4 separate regions of the Homo sapiens genome follow, and all the other regions are linked to region 1. The links are contacts of gene promoters, found by promoter capture Hi-C in blood cells and fetal thymus (Javierre and others, 2016). All regions are on one chromosome and are shown on one strand. Each heading gives the region's core, a stretch centred on a gene start or on the middle of the fragment in contact. The rest is flanking DNA. Distances are from core to core; before and after follow the strand shown. Region 1 holds the start of PSMD6-AS1 (PSMD6 antisense RNA 1). Region 2 overlaps SLMAP (sarcolemma associated protein). Region 3 has its middle 2.1 kb from the start of RPP14. Region 4 holds the start of ARL6IP5 (ARF like GTPase 6 interacting protein 5).

Region 1 (3,577 bases), core at 806-3,305:
CTATCTATCTATCTATCTGTCTGTCTATCTGGTTTTATACTTCTTATAGCACTTATTCCTATCTGACACACTGAATAAAACTGATAAAACTAATAAACTGTTTCAAACAAACAGAGGAACAACTTTGTTTTCCTCACTGCTATTATTACTATGGTCCTACTTTTGGAAAAAAGATTCAGTTTGCTAATAAATACTTACATATAAGGTTTTAGAAAACTGAGATCAGCCTTGGTAGATTCTGTAATCCAGGTTATGTCAGCTTCCTAAAAAAGAGTAACTTCCTGCCTTATATGGTTACTTGTTTCTGAGGGAAAGCTTATTACACATTTTCTTTATCTTCTATCTTTTGTATACTAAAAGTGGGAGACACTGTTTGTTTAATTTTAGGCCACTACTCTTCTTTCTAAAATCGGGAAGCTTACAGGTAAGAGATTTAAAGGTAAGCGATAATGGGCTGTGTCAACATCCGTATTTTACTGACGTATTTTACTGATGAGGCAGTCAGGAGCTGAACCTAGCTGAACCCAGCTGCAACCTTACCCTATAAACCAGATTTTCATTAATGAATAATTCAAGTGACATTATTTTAACATAAGTGGACCCGATTCTAGAAGGCCTATGTGTTTAAGAAAAAAATAAATGGAAAGAAACAACAATGCAGTATTTATTTTATACAGCTGACCTGGGCACATTGTGAAGTAAGCTATAAAAATTCCAAATAATTATCTCTAAAGCAAATCCTTTGTTAGTTACATGGCTTTACATATTAATTACTCTGGAAAGTTTTTGAACTCTGTTTAGTAGCAGATCTCCTTTCTTGATAGTTTCTTGGTACTGCCAGTTCTTGCTATCAGGTCTATAAATAAATTCAAGAAAAAATGAATTATTTACCAGTCACATTATTCCATGACAATAGTTGACCTACTTTTAAAATTTAGGAATGCCCCTTATTCTGAGAAATGAGAGTACCTGTTGGTTTCTACTATTTCATTCACTTTATCTATTTTGCAGTGTAGTCTCCCGGCAGCAATAAACCTGGACAGTTCCCTAATTTAGAGACAAAAAATAACAGAATTAGCTTTATAGAAAATTCTTAGAAAAATGCAAACGGCATTAAAATACTGTCTTAAATTTGTAACAAACATTTAGCTTCCCTTCAAGCTTGTTATTGCACATGCAGTAGTTGACGTTGTCCCTCCTATACTGCAGGCTTTAAGTCATCATCTACTAGAATAAACATGATCCTAGAAGTTCATATTCAGATAGATAGAAAGTAGATCAAACAATGAAACCATATGTACTCAGAGAAAAACTGTAGGTTAGGAAAAATTAGGGACCAAAACTGATAAAAACAGTAAACTGTTTCAAACAAAAGACCTAAAACAAAATTATGGAACACAGCCCATCAGTAAACATGTCAACAGCAATAGTATTAACATGTCAACAGCAATAGTATTTACTAAAACAACGACCCTTTCCCTCTCTAACATATCTTAGTCTAAACAAGTGGAAGGGAAGGGGAGAAATGATGTAGAATTATTGCTTTGCCCATTTTAAAAAAGGGGATTTCATCTAAAATGTAACTTTTTAAGGGAGAAAAAAAGAATAAAGAATCCATGACAACCCAGATTTGAAATTCTTAGGTATCACAGAAATTTAAAACAAGGCCTTTTTAGGTAACAACAACTAGAGCTCAGTGGTACAACCTTTGCCTCTCAAGCTGGTCTTAGAACATGAAGGGAAAAAAAAAAAACTGAACAAATACTACCTGAATTCAACTACTACCTGAAAGGTACCAGCTGCCTTGCATTCACTTGTCATCAAGATGACTTAAGGAATACTGCGGTGTGTGCCCCTAACTAATGAAGGCTTTATCTCCACATTACAGTTACGATACTGAAGAGACGTAACCTGACCAAGGCCACAGAGCTGGAAAAAGAAGCAAAGCCAAGCCGTTTTTCTCATGCACTGCTCACAACAAGCCCCTCCTTCCACTGACTCATGAAAAACACACTCATAATGCCCAGCCCGCACCCTAATGAACAGCCCTCTTAAGAGTGGTCATCAGACTTCAATTTCACAGACTAGAATTGAGAAATGGAACAAAACCTTGGGATACCAGCCTTCCATTTTGGTAGGGATCATTTAAAAAATGGTAGGGATCATTTAAAAAATGTGTTGGTGTCTGAAACTTACTTTGAAGTGGTTAAAAAACATAAAATGTATAGATTGTAACAAGCAAATATGTTAAAATGTACTGTACAATTCTTTCTTTACAATTTTATGGATGTTCGAAATTTAAAAAATACTAGAAAGAGAATGGTCTTATTTAAAAGAAATGCATCTTCATTTAAAGTTTCCACTGCAGACCATTGAAAACACCATCATCAACATTTAAAAACACCTACATGTGGGAGCCACTGATCTAGATGCCATCTGGACATCCCATATTGAGTATGTCTCCTACCCAACTCTACTCTCACCACCCTCGTCCACGCCACGGTAACATCTCCTCTAAGAGCTACTAAACAGCACAACTGGTCCTCTCTGCCACCTTACTCTATTTCTTATATAAAGACACTGCATAGGACCATGTAACTTGGGCTCTAAATCTTCCAATGGCTCCCTATCAAACTTACTTAAAACTCAAGCTCCATCCCATGACCTACAAGGCCCTACACAAATCATTACCTACCTAACTCTCCATATATTATCCTCAAAATCTCCTACCACTCCAACTATGCTGGAGCCACCCTGACATTTTCTGTTCCTACAACATCCAAGCTTATTCCTGGCTCAAAGCCTTAGCCTTTTCTATTCCCTTTTCTGCACGCAGAAGGACTCCATATGGCTGACTCCTCTCAATTCAAATCTCAGAGCAAACCTCACCTCCTTAAGCATGCCGTACGTAAGGATAGCATTTTCTCATCTCCATAGGTTCATTTCTATATGTGAAATTACGTTTTATATTTATTTGCTTCCTTGCCATCTCTTCCCTACTACTACAATGAAAGTGTGAAAAGGGAGCTGTAAAACAATACCAAACATATAGTAATGAATGGCTCATTAAGTATTTATTTGTTTAATCACTGATGCAAGTACTAAAAGTCCCACATTTAACAACCAATCTGACCAGAATTGCAGCAGCAACCTAAAAACTGGAAGGAATTATCAGAGGGAATATGACCAACTGTAAATATCAGATCTAAGAGTCATTACCGTAGCTGCAGTGTGGTCTACAAAGAAGTAACAGAAGACAACTTTTGATAACAACTGGTCTAATGACCTTTAACAAATCACTTAGCCTCACTACAACTCATCTTCCCATCTGTTAATGCAAGGGGCAGACATGACATGAGGAAGGCAGAGGCAACAGGATACGAATGTTTTGATAATACTGAGGAAAAAAACCTCTCCCCTCCCCGTTAAGATTGAGGGAACCAATGTAAACAAGTAAAAAATTGTACAAGTTCACATATTTTAAAAGGCAACTTTAAAACTTCAATTAACATGGCATTATTCAAACTTACTGATCAATGAATTCCACACCAACACCAAACGCTTCTGCCATATAGCC
Region 2 (3,577 bases), core at 616-3,115, 6.3 Mb before region 1:
TGGTGAAATGTAGTTAACACATAGCTTTAGGTGAGTTCAGATCAGGACCTTTCTAGTAAGGATAATTGCTGATATAAACCTAAGATTTTTGAAAGGTTTGATACATACTTGCCCTTGGAGGAGTAATTTGCAATAATCAAAGCTAATTTAATTAAGCATGAACAACTGTAACTTTATATATTTTCAGAGTTTTTTTTACAAGTTGGAGAACATACACATATTGCGTTTGAAAATCACTTTTTGATGTTCCCTGCAGCACTTATTAAGTACTTAATGCATACTTACAGAGGTGCTATTCAAAAGTTAGTGTTAGGAAATAAACTTACTTTCTGAAATTATACCCTATTCTGTCAATTATAGCATTACTTAAATGTGATACGATGAATTCAGTGCTTTTCATTTTAAGCGTAACCAATTTAGTATTTTTATGTTAGTATCGTAAGTTACTATACATGTATGTGCTTTTATTTTAAGAAGTGAAGAAAGAAATTAAGATCCTTTCCATTTTTAAAAACTGTTTATTTATGTTTGTGGAGAGTATACTAAAGAGCTCATCTTTGTGCCTAAACCTCAGGTTTTTAGCTGAGCTACTGAATCAGTTCCAACTTTAAGTTATGTAAGACTAATAGGACTGTCTCAGGTTTCACCTCCTGACTTTTTGCCCCTCTTTCTGAGTTAAATAATTAAATCTTTCTTAAAGGAAGAACTTAAGTCTTCAAGAATATGTTTTGAAATGAAAGAAACCTGAGCCTCAAAAGGAAGAGAAAAAAATGATACTTCGGCAGCTACTGATTTAAGGAATTATTTTGTAAATTATTTTTTAAAGAAAGGAGGAAAAGATTGTCCAAGTGCTGTGTGCTGCATAATATCTATACTTTACGTGTAGGATGAGAACTGAAGAGTATGTTAACTTTTCTGTTTAACACCAGATCCTCATTTACCTGTGGAACAGACCCTTCACTCGCTCCTCGCAAGCTGAAGTTAGGGTGCCTAAAATACTTCATAGATTACTCGTAATCCTTTTTTTTTTTTTTTGAGACAGATTTTTGCTCCTGTCACCCAGGCTGGAGTGCAGTGGCGCTATCTCAGATCACTGCAACCTCTGCCTCCCGGGTTCAAGTGATTCTCCTGCCTCAGCCTCCAAAGTAGCTGGTATTACAGGCACACGCCACCATGCCTGGTTAATTTTGTATTTTTAGTAGAGACAGGGTTTCACCATGTTGGCCAGGCGGTCTTGAACTCCTGACCTCAGTTGATCCACCTGCCTCAACCTCCCAAAGTGCTGGGATTACAGGCGTGAGCCACTGCACCTGGCCCTCATAATTCTTTAAAATGAATATTCATAGAACTCATTTTTCCAGCAGTTGAATTCAAACATCAGTTTACTACTAAGTAGTGCCTTAACTCAACCAGCTTTTACATTTTCACCATTTTATGTTCTTGGGCAACAGGTCTAAACTAATCAGACAACAGGTTGGCTCACAGTACATACTCTGCGAATGCACTTTCTTTGATGAAACACTCGAAGGGGACTCCCATTTTTTGTTTTACTTATTTGAAAAATACTGATTTCATGCCCAGTGCTTTCCATGGCTGTACTAAAACTCTCACAATAGGTTATTTTGAGATAACTAAGAATAGGTCAGTAGTGACTGTTTCATGAATTGAGATGACATGTTAATATTTGTTTTTTTTCTTTGAGATGGAGTCTCGCTCTGTGGCCAGGCTAGAGTGCAGTGGCGCAACCTCAGCTCACTGCAACGTCTGCCTCCTGGGTTCAAGCGATTCTTGTGTCTTAGCCTCCTGAGTAGCTGGGATCACAGGCGCATGCCACCATGCCCAGCTAATTTTTATATTCTTCGTAGATACTGGGTTTCACCATGTTGGCCAGGGTGGTCTTGAACGCCTGACCTCAAGTGATCCACCCTCCTCGGCCTCCCAAAGTGCTGGAATTACAGGCATAAGCCACCACACCCGGCCATGAAATTAGTTCTTCAGAAAAACTTATCTTTGAATGGTAGATATGGCTTATTTCTACCATTTTCACTTTTTTCCTCCTGCTTTATTAGCTAAAATAACACGCAGGCTATGAGACCACTACTTTAGATATAGATGTAATTATTGATTATTATACCACTTAATCTAGTTATAGCGGATGCTCTGTCAGATCTTACCATGTCATTGAATTGTTTTAGGAATTAACTATTTAAAGTTTTGGTTTGGACAGATAGTAGGTTTTAATTGAGCATCTATTATGTGCCAGACACTGTGAGGGATACAGTTCCAAAGAAAACCCACAGTGCGACCAAATAGTTCTCGTATGAAATTTGCAGTGTCTGTAGTCCCACCTACTCGGGATGCTGAGGCACGAGGGTTGCTTGAGCCCAGGAGTTTGAGGTTGCAGTGCTGTGATTATGCCACTGCACTCCAGCCTGGGTATCAAAGCAAGACCCTGTCTCTTAAAAAAAAAAAAAGAATCCCTTCAGAGAAGGAGTTTCGTTCTTGTTGCCCAGGCTGGAGTGCAATGGCGCGATCTTGGCTCACCACATCCTCTCCCTCCTGGGTTCAAGTGATTCTCCTGCCTCAGCTTCCCGAGTAGCTGGGACTACAGGCATGCGCCACCACGCGTGGCTAATTTTGAGTTTTTAGTAGAGACAGGGTTTCTCCATGTTGGTCAGGCTGGTCTTGAACTCCCAACCTCAGGTGATCCACCCACCTCAGCCTCCCAAAGTGCTGGGATTACAGGCATGAGCCACCGCGCCCGGCCAGGTTTTTTTTTTTTTTTAAACATCTGGGGATGATAATGGTACCTATTATTGTTTTGAGAATTGAGGTAATTATATAAATCACTTAGCACCCTGTCCCTGGCTCTTACTAAGCACCCAATACTCAGCAGAGAGGGTGTTTAGTGGGGAAGAGGGAACTATTTAGACAACACTGTGCAATTTGCTATAGTGCTATGGAGTCTTAGGAAGGTGATGAGAAATTATTTTCTTTAATGTGATGGCATATATAGAATAAATTTTGTTTTTGTTTTTGTTTTTTGTTTTTTTGAGACGGAGTCTGGCTCTGTCACCCAGGCTGGAGTGCAGTGGTGCGATCTCAGCTCACTGCAACCTATACCTTCTGGATTCAAGAGATTCTCCTACCTCAGCTTCTCAAGTAGCTGAGATTACAGGCATTCATCACCATGCCTGGCTAATTTTTGTATTTTTAGTGGAGACAGGGTTTCACCATGTTGGCCAGGCTGGTCTCAAACTCCTGACCTCAGGTGATCCACTTGCCTCGGCCTCCCAAAGTGCTAGGATTACAGGCATGAGCCACTGTGCTTGGCCAGAAGAAATTTTTAAAATTGAAACTGATGTAGTTGATAACTTTGTCTAAATTGGCAGTTTACCTGGGCGGTCGACAATTGGGGTAATATGTGCTTTGGGTGACTTTCACTTTGTGGTGACTGTTGCATTCTGCATTGTCCATTATGGGAGGCTCATTAAAAGTTGGAAGAAGGCCGGGCGCGGTGGCTCACGCCTGTAATCCCAGCACTTTGGGAGGCCGAGGCGGGTGGATCATGAGGTCA
Region 3 (3,577 bases), core at 688-3,187, 5.7 Mb before region 1:
CCTATCTCCACAATCTGCTGACATAGGGGGTGTTTTCCATTAAATCAATGGAGAACAGGGGGACTGGAATCTCACTTGGACCCTTCTCTCTTGCCTTTTCTTCCCCAAGTTGAGAAAGCTCCTCAGCTTTAGAAAAATCCATTTGGCACCAATAAGTAAGGCAGGGAGGGGAGCCACACAGCAGAGGGGAAGTGTGGACTTAACTCATTCTTGGCTGCCGTACCTTTCAGGGACATAAAATAGAGACCGACCCCAACAACTTTGCTCTGAAACACAGAGGGTACCTGAAATGGTCCTCTTAAGAACTAACTGGCTCCACCCAATGCAGTACAGGGTAACTTTCATAAAGACTGAGGCAGCTAACCTGGGCAACATAGCAAGATCCCCTCTCTAAAAATAAAAATCAAAAAAATTAGCCAGGTGTGGTGACACATGCCTGTAGTCCCAGCTCCTCTGGAGGCTGAGGCAGGAGGATCACTTGAGCCCAGGAGTTTGAGGCTGCAGTGACCTATGTTTGCACCACTGTACTCCAGCCTGGACCACAGAGTAAGACCCTGTCTCCAAAAAAAAAAAGAAAAAAAGACTGAGGCAGCCTTGTGTGTTTTGATTTGGAGCAATTTTAGATACATCGTCAAGAGGTAAAAGCCCCCATATCATATTTTTCAGGGGACACTTAAGAAACTCATACTAGTTGTTGCTCCTGGAGAGGGGAGAGGCTGACAGGGGAAGAGGTGGAAGGGAGACTCACTTTTTAATATCTATCCCTTTATGTCATTTGAAATGTATGCTGTAAGCCTACAGTACCTATTCAGAAGATAAAATTTAGGCATGGTGCAGTGCCTCACACCTGTAATCCCAGCATTTTGGGAGGCCAACGCAGAAGGATCGCTTGAGCCTAGGAGTTCAAGACCAGCCTGAGCAACATGGTGAGACCCTGTTTCTACAAAAAAATTAAAAATTAGCTGGCCATGGTGGCATGCACCTGTAGTCCCAGCTACTTGGGAGGCTGGGGTGGGAGGATCGGTTGAGCCTGGGAGGTTGAGGCTACAGTGACCCATGATCACATTATTGTACTACAGTCTGGGTGACAGTGAGACACTGTCCAAAAACGATTTTTTAATATAAAATTTAGTTGAAAAACAAAAGTTTTTTTTTGTTTTTTGTTTTGTTTTGTTTGTTGGCAGAGTCTCGCTCTGTCATCTCGGCTAGAGTGCAGTGGCGTGATCTCAGCTTACTGCAACCTCTGCCTCCTGGGTTCAAGCAATTCTCCTGCCTCAGCCTCCCGAGTAGCTGGGATTACAGGTGCGCACCATCACACCCAGCTAATTTTTGTATTTTTAGTAGAGACAGGGTTTCGCCATGTTGGCCAGGCTGGTCTTGAACTCCTGACCTCAGGTGTTCTGCCCACCTCGGCCTCCTAAAGTGCTGGATTACAGGCCTGAGCCACAACACCCAGCCAAAAAACAAGTTTTTTGTCTTTATCATTCAAAGGCATCTCTTTTATCCTCCGCTCTGAATTAATAAGACAGCATGAGAGAATTCAGGCAACTGGGAAGACACTTCATTTTCAGGGTTTGTTGCAGCAGGGTGAAAATTATCTATTGTTCCTTGAAGTTCAAAATACAGGAATTGCTCTGGTTTTCCTGGGCCACCTGGCAGGATACATTTGCCAGGCAGCTGGCTTACAGGAACCCTCTCCCATTACTGAGGGTTTCCTGGGGTGCCAGACACTTTATACCATCAACTCTTTTTCCCTCAACTCTGTGAGGTAGATGCTAATAATCTCTCCATGTGACAGATGAGGGAGGTAGGTAAGTGGCAGAGGATGCATTTGAAGCAAGTTCTGGCAGCTTCTGAAATCAAGCTTTTTTGAGAAAGATAATACTTGGGTCTGTGGGGTCTGTGTTTGCTTTCTCCACCTCTTCCCACATCTGGAACAAGCCCTGTCTCCTCTGAAGGAAGAAGAAAGTAGGAACCACAGAACTGGAGAGCATGGCCAAGGTTGAGGACTGAAGCTTCTGGAAACAACACAGTGGGATTTTGAGAAAATAATTGAGGAAGGAGATCCCCGCTGACTCAACTGTCCTGTGCAAGGCAACCCTTTGCCCCCCAACCCAAGCAAAACCAGCACATCCATTTATGAACAAATGCCTTCAGTAAATAGATGTTGGGTCACCATTGGGTACCAGGAACTGGGATGCAGTGGTGAGAAACACAGACAAGGCCCCATCCTCATGGGGGTTACACTAAAGTTTCCCTTCCCACTGCAGCCCCTCAATTGGTGGTAATACAGTGCAGTATGGAGAGCACTGGCTAGAATCAGACAGCCCATGCCACTGCTTATAACTGTGATCTTGAGCAAATAACTTAGCCTCTCTGTGCCTCAGTTTCTTTTCCTGTTGCCAGGCTAGAGTGCAGTGGTGTGATCTCGGCTTACTGCAACCTCTACCTCCCAGGTTCAAGCAATTCTCCTGCTTCAGCCTCCCGAGTAACTGGGATTACAGGTGTGCACCACCGTGCCCAGCTAATTTTTGTATTTTCAGTAGAGATGGGGGTCTCACCATGCTGGCCAGGCTGGTCTCGAATTCCTGGCCTCAAGTGATCTGCCCGCCTCAGCCTCCCAAAGTGCTGGAATTACAGGCATGAGCCACTGCGCCTGGCCTGTGCCTCAGTTTCTACCTCTAAAATGGTGATGATCATAGTAATAGCCATCTCAGGATTGTGTGAGGGTTCCATGAGATGACATATGTAAAATATTTTGCATAGTGCCTAGCACAAAGTAAGTCTTTACTTTGTGGGTCTTTCCAGGACGGCCTAGATAGAACACCTACTATGTGCTGGGAGTCACAAGGGACACTGAGAGTGGGTCCTATCTTTGGGGAGTGCTTGACATAGGAGATCTTGAGGAGAGGAGATGCTAGATATAATTTTGTAGGCTGGGCGCGGTGGCTCACGTCTGTAATCCCAACACTTTGGGAGGCGAGGTGGGTGGATTGCCTGAAGTCAGGAGTTTGAGACCTGCTTGGCTAACATAGTGAAACCCTGTCTCTACTAAAAATACAAAAATTAGGCCAGGCGCGGTGGCTCACGCCTGTAATCCCAACACTTTGGGAGGCCGAGGTGGACAGATCACGAGGTCAAGAGATTGAGACCATGCTGGCCAACATGGTGAAACCTCGTCTCGACTAAAAATACAAAAATTAGCTGGGCATGGTGGTGCATGCCTGTAGTCCCAGCTACTTGGGAGGCTGAGGCAGAAGAATCACTTGAAGGGAGGCGGAGGGTGCAGTGAGCCAAGATGGCGCCACTGCACTCCAGCCTGGGCGACAGAGCGAGACTCCATCTCAATAAATAAATTATAATATAATGAAAAAAATGTGTAGAATGACTCGGGCGCAGTTGCTCACGTCTGTAATCCCAGCACTTTGGGAGGCCAAGGTGGGCAGATCACTTGAGGCGAGGAGTTCGAGACCAGCCTGGCCAACATGGTGAAACCCCGTCTCTACTAAAAATACAAAAATTAGCCAGGCATGGTGGAGCATACCTGTAGTCCTAGCTACTCAGGAGGCTGAGGTGG
Region 4 (3,577 bases), core at 1,078-3,577, 5.1 Mb after region 1:
TTTAAAATAATTTAACAAAGGTAGAAATATTTAGAGAAAAAAAAAATCTCCCATACCCCAAAGAGAGAGACAGGGTTAACATTTTGGGAGGGAGACAGAAGGGAATCATGCTATAAACAGCTTTCTCTGTCTTTTCAGAATTTATTTATTTATGTTTAAACCTCTAAAGAGGTTTAATTCTTTCTTGGGTATCAATTGCCTGTGATCAAGGAGTAATCATATTGTTACTAATACACTCTTGACAGCTTTTGGTCATGCAGTTCTGAGCAGTTGGAAGATAAAGTTCTTAGTTACAGCTTCTAATACTCATAAATCTCACCAACAGTGTGGGGCCCCACTGGAGTTCCCACTCTCATCTTGACCAAGATGATTTACTCAGCTTGCCCACAGTGCTGCCTCTTGACATTCTGAAGCCCTGGGGAATTCCTCCACACCCTCTGACTTCCTGTAACTGAGCACTGAGGCTCAGTGCATCTCTATTTAGCACTCCTCTTACTGTCTCATATTTAACTAGTGTTTCCACTGGATTGCAGAAGTTTTGAAGGCAGAGCAGGATTACATTTTTCTCCTCTTTAAAAAAAAAAAGAAAAGAAAAGAAAAAAAACCCACAGTGCTTTCACAGAGCCTCAAAAGAACTCGAAATACTTGCTGGCATTGTACTGAATATTCTCAACCTTTTCCCCCTACCCAGATACATCCACAACAATAAAGTTGGAGCAAGGTAGAGAAAAGTTAGTAGATGTTTATAATGAAAGCATAGAAAACAAATCAGATTAAAGCACTATTAATAGCAAACAAGAATCGTGGGCTATCCTATTGCTAATAACAATAATAGTAACATATAACTGTGAACCTTTATTATACACTAAGCATTTCCTATACATTCCTTCACTTAGCCTCGTCTATATGGCAGATGTTCCATTATCCCCACTTTACACATGAAGACACCGAGGCTGGGAGAGATTAAGTAGTTTCTCCAAAGTCACCTGCCAGAGAGGAAGGAGCTGCGACTCTAATTTTGCTTTCTCTGACTTCACACCATCCCATTTTTCCAGAATCAAGAAAACATGAGCACTCAGGAATATTTTCACATTTTAAACTTTATTCAAAAAGCAGCACATAAGATATATCTTAGCACTAATTCCATGCAATCACCAAATTTTCCTAAACAACAGTAGTAGTAGTAATTTCTTAGAGTCGCTGTAAGCTCCTTAACTGTCTTCTGAATTAATAAGGAAAATTAAATTATGTTTTCTAGACTTTGCATTAGTATATTTCATTACTTTCCAAGTTTTCAAAAATTGGTGATCTGAGTAGAGTGAATTCACCTTGTCTAAGCCACTTAGGGGCTTAGAGACTCTGTTATCTTAGAAATCTTCACCTTAGAATTCTACCTATTACATTATACAATTAAACAAACTACTTTTTTTCTCATGCATTGTACCAATCAGCCCCTTAACTGAAAAAAGATGACCCTTGGAAGCTTAGAAGAGAATTGACAACGAATACTTCTTTTGCCAGGTCTTTGGGCTGGGATACAAAACATCACGTTATCTATGAATATATTGTGGTCCCTCAGTGAAAGCTGTCACCAAATATTGCAATAAAACTAAGAAAACTTTTGAAGTGGAATGCATATTTCTGCCCAGAAAATGCTGGATGCAGAACAACTAGTTCACTGCAGACAACTGTTTGCTTTAAAATGTAAGCAACATGCCCAGCTCAGGACTGAAGTGGCCAGAGTGCCTACTTTATCAGAATGGCATAGCAGTCCAACAATTTAGCCTAGAGAGAACAGAGGTGGAGAACAAAGAAGAGAAGTGAAAAAAACAGACCAGCCCTTCTGTTCTACATGACCTTCTTTCCCGTTTTGCCAATCTGATTTCACACATAGTGACTCATGGTGAAACAGAGAAAACATGGGAATTGCATTCAGATGTGTAGAGGTTAGTAAGACTTAGTTTTCAAAAGCAGCTCATTCTCCATTAACACTGTAGTCGCCTTCCATTTCATTTCACTTAGATTGGCATCTGCACAGCTGCCAAAATTTTTCTCTAAGTCAGAGAACACACTCCTAGGTAAACCTTCAAAAAAGGTATTTCGAAGGAGGCAGCTTCTCTGCTGCTAGAGAAGGCATTGCCACCTCCCTTCAGACAGGGGATTTCCGCTAGTTGCTTTCTGTCATTTCGTCTCTATTCTGCACTCAGTCCCTTGTTCTGTCTGGAGGTTCCTGTTTTCCTGTACCCAACCAAGAGCCAATGAAGAAGTAAAGAGGAGCAAACACGCCCGCCCACTCCCAATTTCCTTTGCTCTGCTGTCTGCCAACCGCAAAGCCGACCGAGACGGAGCCGCTGTCAACTCTCCAACTCAGCTCAGCTGATCGGTTGCCGCCGCCGCCGCCGCCAGATTCTGGAGGCGAAGAACGCAAAGCTGAGAACATGGACGTTAATATCGCCCCACTCCGCGCCTGGGACGATTTCTTCCCGGGTTCCGATCGCTTTGCCCGGCCGGACTTCAGGGACATTTCCAAATGGAACAACCGCGTAGTGAGCAACCTGCTCTATTACCAGACCAACTACCTGGTGGTGGCTGCCATGATGATTTCCATTGTGGGGTAAGTGGGGTCCCCCTACCCGGGACACCGATCCGGGGCGAGCACGGAGGGGCCTCGGGGTGCAAGATCCCGGGATGTAGAGACGCTCTCTGACCACGCTCAGCGCCTGCCCTGGCAATTCTGCAAGCGGCCAAGCCAGTGGAAACTTGTTTGCAGGGCGAGGCCGCAGTAACCTGGGGCCCCATTTTCTGCACCAAGGGCTGAGACTTGAGGGGGGCCCTAGGGGAAAGAGGACGGGGAAAATTTGCCAGCCGCAGGGAAGAAAAATGAGAGTTCCCCCACCCCCCTGCCCCCGCCCGCGTGCCAGGATCGGGCTCTTGCTGGAAAGATATTTGTAGCGCCCTCGTCTTTTAAAAATAAGAAGAAAAAGGAAAGTGGTGTAACCCTACCCTGGAGCTGGCTGGGGCGGCAGGGTGTGGACCCGGGCTAGTGTAAAAAGGGCAACCAAGTGGCGACGCACTTTGCTGCTTTCTCTGCCTAATGCCTGCCACACTGTACAGTAAAGCTGAGCTTGGGATCAAAAGGGGGGGTGTCTCCTGGTGGCGCATCTCCCATTGTGGGGTAAAGGCTGCCATGACTGTGGGAAGATGGCCTTCTGGCATTTTCTTCCAGCAGTGGCCAGGCGTGGTCACTTTCTCTGTCTTCGCTTCCTAGCCTGAGGTTTCAATGTATCAGAAGGCCTTTTCAATACCTGATACTTAACAAAGTATCCTGTGTTGAGACTGCATGTACACCTGCTTTCCTAGAAACCACCTTTCCTTCTAGTTCACCCTTTAAGAAATGCTTCTCTCGCTTATGCAGGATGGGTGGTGATATTCTCAATCTTGCTGATTATCTCCTACACATCTTTAAAGAAAAAGCCACCCTCAGACTTTATAAAGGACTCACTTGCACTTAAATGTCTGACATTTCTATTTCAGGGCAGACGTAGAGGGAAGAAGCAGCAAGCTGGCTTGGGAGAAA

What was found. Contacts are between HindIII fragments. The CHiCAGO score rates a contact against its expected background, and 5 or more counts as called.
Region 2: a fragment that was not itself captured here is called in contact with the fragment with the promoter of PSMD6-AS1 in region 1 in 1 of 17 cell types (total CD8 T cells); the score reaches 6.1 in total CD8 T cells.
Region 3: a contact is called between a fragment that was not itself captured here and the fragment with the promoter of PSMD6-AS1 in region 1, in 1 of 17 cell types (total CD4 T cells). The highest score is 7.8, in total CD4 T cells.
Region 4: the fragment with the promoter of ARL6IP5 here is called in contact with the fragment with the promoter of PSMD6-AS1 in region 1 in 3 of 17 cell types (naive CD8 T cells, total B cells and total CD4 T cells); the score reaches 11.9 in naive CD8 T cells.

The regions. Positions count from the first base shown.
Region 1 is chr3:64,009,909-64,013,485 of GRCh38, forward strand. PSMD6-AS1 (PSMD6 antisense RNA 1) reads left to right here and starts at 2,056. Exons shown (of 2, transcript NR_189168.1): 1 at 2,056-2,134. It overlaps PSMD6 (proteasome 26S subunit, non-ATPase 6), which reads right to left. Exons shown (of 8, transcript NM_014814.3): 6 at 3,531-3,577; 7 at 970-1,047; 8 at 643-856. The coding sequence ends at 760. PSMD6-AS2 (PSMD6 antisense RNA 2) reads left to right here. Exons shown (of 3, transcript NR_038286.1): 3 at 1,889-2,335. The HindIII fragment of the contact is 1,623 bases long and covers 1,160-2,782 here.
Region 2 is chr3:57,758,260-57,761,836 of GRCh38, forward strand. The region is part of intron 2 of SLMAP (sarcolemma associated protein); the gene reads left to right. Among named protein-coding and RNA genes, the nearest start is that of SLMAP, 3.7 kb to the left of the region's middle. The HindIII fragment of the contact is 8,010 bases long and covers 1-3,577 here.
Region 3 is chr3:58,302,353-58,305,929 of GRCh38, forward strand. No RefSeq gene overlaps it. Among named protein-coding and RNA genes, the nearest start is that of RPP14, 2.1 kb to the right of the region's middle. The HindIII fragment of the contact is 151 bases long and covers 1,863-2,013 here.
Region 4 is chr3:69,082,610-69,086,186 of GRCh38, forward strand. ARL6IP5 (ARF like GTPase 6 interacting protein 5) reads left to right here and starts at 2,328. Exons shown (of 3, transcript NM_006407.4): 1 at 2,328-2,614. The coding sequence starts at 2,439. RefSeq lists enhancers at 332-491, 2,099-2,408. The HindIII fragment of the contact is 15,418 bases long and covers 1,482-3,577 here.